Regions from separate parts of the Homo sapiens genome. Here region 2 is linked to region 1. The links are contacts of gene promoters, found by promoter capture Hi-C in human tissues and cell types (Jung and others, 2019). All regions are on one chromosome and are shown on one strand. Each heading gives the region's core, a stretch centred on a gene start or on the middle of the fragment in contact. The rest is flanking DNA. Distances are from core to core; before and after follow the strand shown.

Region 1 (2,700 bases), core at 201-2,700:
ACTGGCTCTTCACACAATTGTCTCTTACAACTGAAGGGACATTTAAACTGTCAGCCTAATAATAAAGTAGAAAAAAACAGTTCCAGCTGGGTACGGTGGCTCAAGGATGTAATCCCAGAACTTTGGGAGGCTGAGGTGGGCGGATCACTTGAGGTCAGGAGTTTGAGACCAGCCTAGCCAAATGGCAAAACCCCGTTTCTACTAAAAATACAAAAATTAGCTGGGCGTGGTGGCGAGCACCTGCAATCCCAGCTACTCGGGAGGCTAAGGCAGGAGAATCCCTTGAACCTGGGAAGCGGAGGTTGCAGTGGGCCGAGATTGTGCCACTGCACTCCACCCTGGGCAAGAGTGAGACTGAGTCTCAAAAACAAAAAAAAAAAACACAGGCCTCAGCATCGCCTGGACCTGTTCTTGCTTGGGGCATCCCGTCGGTCACCAACCATGACAGCGAGGCGGGCCTGGCCTGTGCTCCACCGGAGGGGGCTTCTTGCACAGATGACCTGCTCATTTCAGCCCCTCCAGAATCTTCTGGCAGGCGCAGAGCAACAGGACGTCCATTTTACAGACGAGGAAACCGAGACACAGGGAAGGTTGCCATCTGCAACCCAGCCCGGTTTTTATCTTGTTTTTCTGTGTTTTAACTTTTTATTTAGACTTACAGTTTGAAACAGTGCTAGAATCGGAAGCATGTAAAGAAACCTGTGGACCTTTTATGCAGATACACTTAAGTTTTTAACCCATGTGCCTTATCACTGGGGACCTCTTGCACTCTCTCTCATGATTTTTTTCCCGAACTAGATGAGGATATTGACAAAGATTCTTGCTTGGCCAAACTGTAGTCGGGCTCCTGAAGCGCCTAGGCCACCTGCGCACTTCCTTGTAAAATCCACTTTTAGCAAGAAGCCTGGCTAAGTCAGTTTAGCCAGACCCTTCCCACCCGCTTGCTATCGGATCACCGTGGAGATCGGAGCCGGCTGCTCACCTGCGCCATCGCCGGCGACGCCCGATCACCCTGCCTGCCTGAAACCAGAAGCGCCTCATCCCTGGGGTTTCCTCTCAGAGACTGTCCATGCAGGGACCGCACCCTGCTCCGGGCTATCAATTCCCACTCGCCCTTGCTGTATTCAGCGGAGCCCAATGTCTCCCCAGCGGCGCCCCAGGCGCGGCCCCCCGCTGCTCACTCGCGCGCAGCGCCCGAGCGGAGGGAGGCCTCTCACGGCCACAGCCCGGGCCAGCCCAGGGGTGCGCAGCGGGGCCAAAGCGGCTTCTTTCGCTCCAGGAGCCGCGGCCGCGCCCTGAGGCTAAGGCAGGACTCCGGGCCGGCCCCGTCCCCGCGGCCCACCCACCTGGTCGGCGATGTGCTGGGTCTCGGCGGTGGCCGGCTGCGTGGCGGAGGGCGCCCCGCACATCATCTTGGCGGCGACGGAGGGAATCTGGCGAGGGGACTCGGCGAGGGGACGCGGCGGCTCCTCAGCCCAAGTAGGCGCTGGGGTCACGTGACGCGCGGGCGGAACCAAGGGGCGGGGAGGAGGCACTTTGGCTTCGGAGTCCCCTGCGGGGTCGCGGTGGCCCCGCAAGAAGGGACGCGCGGGGCGGGGCGCGGGGCGGGGCGCGGGGCGGGGAACCTGGCCACCACTCGCCGCAGGCTGGGTCTCCGCGCCCAGCGCTGGTGTCGGGAGGGAGCGCCCCCCTCCCGGGGCTGGTATCGTCTTTCCGGGCGCCGAGTCACACGGACCGGGGCGGGGGCGCGGCCGGGTGTCGCCGGTGGGTTGGGCGCGCAGGGTGGGACGATAGGGAAGGGGCAGTCGGAGTAGGCGCAATCCTGCAGGGTGGCGGGGTCCGGGCCGCGCACGAGGGAGGGCGGGGCGCAGCGCTGCAGGGGTCAGGGGTCAGGGGTCCCGGCCCCGCGGGAGCAGGTGTGCGGGCTGCAGTGGACATCACCGCTTGTGACCGAGAACACTGAAGGCTGAAGGGGGTGGACAGAGGGGCCCAGGGAGGGGGAGACGGCGCCCACGCGCTCCAGGCTGGGTGGGGGCAGGGGGTAGATCAGAGGGATGAGAAGAAGGCAGGGTTCTCTGGTGGAATTTGCGTTTTAGGATTTCTTTTCTTTCTTTCCTTTTCTTTTCTTTTTTTTTTTTTTTTTTTTTTTTTGAGACGGAGTCTCGCTCTGTCTCCCAGGCTGGAGTGCAGTGGCGCGATCTCGGCTTACTGCAGGCTCCGCCTCCCGGGTTCACGCCATTCTCCTGCCTCAGCCTCCCGAGTAGCTGGGACTACAGGCGCCCGCCACCACACCTGGCTAATTTTTGTATTTTTAGTAGAGACGGGGTTTCACTGTGTTAGCCAGGATGGTCTCGATCTCCTGACCTTGTGATCCACCCGCCTTGGCCTCCCAAAGTGCTGGGATTACAGGTGTGAGCCACTGCGCCCGGCCTTTTTTTTTTTTTTTTTGAGACGGAGTCTGGATCTGTCGCCTAGGCTGGAGTGCAGTGGCGCAATCTCGGCTCACTGCAAGCTCCGCCTCCGGGGTTCACACCATTCTCCTGCCTCGGCCTCCCGAGTAGCTGGGACTACAGGCGCGCGCCTTCATGCGCAGCTAATTTTTGTGTTTTTAGTAGAGACGGGGTTTCACCATATTGGCCAGGCTGGTCTCGAACTCCTGACCTCGTGATCCACCTGCCTCGGGCTCCCAAAGTGCTGGAA
Region 2 (3,091 bases), core at 310-2,809, 100 kb before region 1:
GGTGGAACACCTGAGGTCAGGAGTTTGAGACCAGCCTGGCCAACATGGTTAAACCCCGTCTTTACTAAAAATACAAATATTAGCCGGGTGTGGTGGTGCACACCTGTAATCCCAGCTACTCGGGAGGCTGAGGCAGGAGAATCACTTGAACCCAGGAGGCAGAGGTTGCAATGAGCTGAGATCATGCCATTGCACTCCAGCCTGGGCCACAGAGTGGGACCCCGTCTCCAAAAAAAAAAAAAAAAAAAAGTAAAAGATCTGCACAGTCTAAGTGATGTTTAATAAATAAGTGTAAAAGAAATGATTGAGTATATTTAATTATCAACAGATTTTCTAGCTGCCCAAGAATTACTGAGAAAAGTGAATAATAAATAATGCTAGTTTGTTCCTCTTCATTATTTTCTTGCTATATGGTAGTATGTTGATGTGGAAGCCAAGTATTTAGAGCCTTTTGTTCACTGCAGAACACCTGTTCATTCAGACCTTTTGGCAAACCATGAATCGAGAATGGAAAGGAATAGACAGGCTACGCCTGGACAAATACTATATGGTAAGATCTGCCGCAGTTACTTCAAAAACTCCTGGGAAGAAAAGAATGTCCTTTATCTTAAAAACAATGGGAAGGTTTATTTGTGAAGCAAAACAAGCCACAGGCTTAGTGTGAAGGAAGAATTTGAATGTGTCCTGGAAAGCTTCTCTGTTTTGGCTTTTGCAGTTCTTAAGGATGAGTTTGGGGAGCATTAGTGAATACGTTGGGTATTTTTTGAGACAGAGTCTCTCTTGCTCTGCTCCCCAGGTTGGAGTGCAGTGGTGCGATCTCAGCTCACTGCGACCTCCGCCTCCTGGGTTCAAGTGATTCTCATGCCTCGGCCTCCTGAGTAGCTGGGATTACAGACGCGCACCACCATGCTTGGCTAATTTTTGTATTTTTAGTAGAGATAAGGGTTTGCCATGTTGGCCAGGGTGGTCTTGAACTCCTGGCCTCAAATGATCTGCCCACCTCAGCCTCCCAAAATGCTGGGGTTACAGGCATGAGCCACTGTTCTTGGCTATGAATATGTTTTTTGATCTAGAAGGTAAATATGACTGTTGTGAATATTTTTTTACTTTTGGGATCCAGGCCATAACAATTTCATTGGTCCCTTCATTCTGCTGAGCTGATTAATATTTCTTACCTTTCCTTTTTTTTTTTTTTTTTTTTTTTTTTAAACAAAAATTGCCTTTCTTTAGCTGATTCGTCTGGTCCTGAGGCAGTCCTTTGAAGTCTTGAAGCGAAATGGCTGGGAAGAAAGGTCAGTAAACCATTTGAGTTAGCATGTGGTAGCCTTAAAACTTAAAAGGTAGTAGAGTGTCAAGTTTTCTGAACTTGTAGAGTACCAATGAGAAGCTCGATACATCGTTACCTATAGAGAATTGAAATCCAGTAGAAGGCATAAAACAGTTAAGTATATATGACAGTTAACATTTTATCCTGATTTAAGTGATTGCTTTTTTCCTTGTAAAATGATTTCAGCCTTGCATTGATTGTTAGGCTGTGTAGGTTCTAGACGGAGTATTTTTGTTTCTCTTTGGGAAGTGGGACGTGTTGGCATACTGTCATTCACAGAAGCATGCGTTTGGTTCTTTAGCCGAATCAAGGTTTTCTTGGATGTCCTGATGAAGGAGGTCCTGTGTCCTGAGAGTCAGTCTCCTAATGGAGTGAGATTCCACTTCATTGATATTTACCTGGATGAACTCTCCAAAGTCGGGGGGAAGGAGGTAAGCAGCTGCCGACAGGCTGCCCACGGGGTGAGGGGGCCGCCAGTGTTCGCAGTAGTCGCCAGTGAAGTGCTGTGGGGTGGCCCTTCGCATGACCAGCGACTGTAGCAGCGTGAATTGCTTCAGTCCTGTCTGGGAATGTGTCCTAAGCAGCTGGTGGGATGGGATTTGTGCACTGAGGATGTACATGACAGTCTTACCTGTAAAACGGAATTGAAAGCAACCTACAGACTCCACTAAAGAACTCACTAACACGGGGGAGTACTCAGGATCTAGGGAGCTTTATAAAGCGCTAGGAAAAGCTATGCAAATGGTAGACATTTTTAAGGTATATACTCATAAATAGACAAAAGGCTGGAAAGGAAACATACATTTTTTAGTATGCAAATGATTCTCTGAATGTGGGAATGTGCACAGATTTTACTTTTCTTTCACAGGTGTTTTGCAGGGAACATGTATTTTTTTGATTAAAAGAAAATATGTTATATTCAAAACAATAATTCTTTTGTCTCACACTTGGAGGCACTGTCCCTGTTACCCCTCTTGTAGAGGAAGTATATGTATGTCCTGTATCAGGTTTGTCCAGCCCGCAGCCTGAGAGCTGCATGGGGCCCAGGGCAGCTTTGAATGTGGCCCAACACAAATTTATAAACTTTCTTAAAATATGAGGGGTATTTTGCATTTTATTTTATTTTATTTTATTTTATTTTATTTTATTTTATTTTATTTTATTTTTAGCTCATCAGCTGTTGTTAGTGTTTGTGTATTTTAGGTGTGCCCCAAGACAGTTATTCTTCCATTATGGCTTGGGGAAGTCACAAGATTGGACACCCGTGTTGTATATGTTGGGCATATAGGATAGTGCAGGTCAGGCTGGGTGGCTTTCTCCAGCCACTGCACTAAGATACCAAGTAGCTGGAGGGCGGCCTCAGTCTTCAGCCTGGCTCCAGGCTTCTGTGGCATTCCACAGGGGCGCTTTGGGGCTGTGTGAGACAGGCATTGCTTGGTCTAACTCCACCTTTGTAAAAGATGGGAATGGTCCCTTTTTCAAGGACATGTCAAGAAGGGAAAGGCTCTTTCTCAATTTTTCCCTTTTTCTAAATTACAGCTTTTAGCAGATCAGAATCTCAAGTTTATCGATCCATTCTGCAAAATTGCTGCGAAGACGAAGGAGTAAGTGATTCCCCTGTTCGTTCCTCCTGCTCCGTGGCATTTGCTCATGGGAGTTACTTGCCGTCGTGCAGCCTGGCACAGGGTACCCAGGACACTGCTTCACAGCAGAGAGCGGCTGGAGAAGACAGCCGAAGCTTTGAGCAGTGATTTGGCTCTTCTA

The links. Contacts are between HindIII fragments. The study calls those that stand out against the background at their distance.
Region 2: a contact is called between a fragment that was not itself captured here and the fragment with the promoter of CSTB in region 1, in 2 of the 25 tissues and cell types used here (dorsolateral prefrontal cortex and mesendoderm cells).

Annotation. Positions count from the first base shown.
Region 1 is chr21:43,774,858-43,777,557 of GRCh38, forward strand. It overlaps CSTB (cystatin B), which reads right to left and starts at 1,451. Exons shown (of 3, transcript NM_000100.4): 1 at 1,347-1,451. The coding sequence starts at 1,412. RefSeq lists a silencer at 1,030-2,029. The HindIII fragment of the contact is 5,981 bases long and covers 1-2,700 here.
Region 2 is chr21:43,673,406-43,676,496 of GRCh38, forward strand. It overlaps RRP1B (ribosomal RNA processing 1B), which reads left to right. Exons shown (of 16, transcript NM_015056.3): 4 at 465-550; 5 at 1,231-1,292; 6 at 1,629-1,758; 7 at 2,867-2,931. Among named protein-coding and RNA genes, the nearest start is that of RRP1B, 15 kb to the left of the region's middle. RefSeq lists an enhancer at 835-1,334. The HindIII fragment of the contact is 5,299 bases long and covers 1-3,091 here.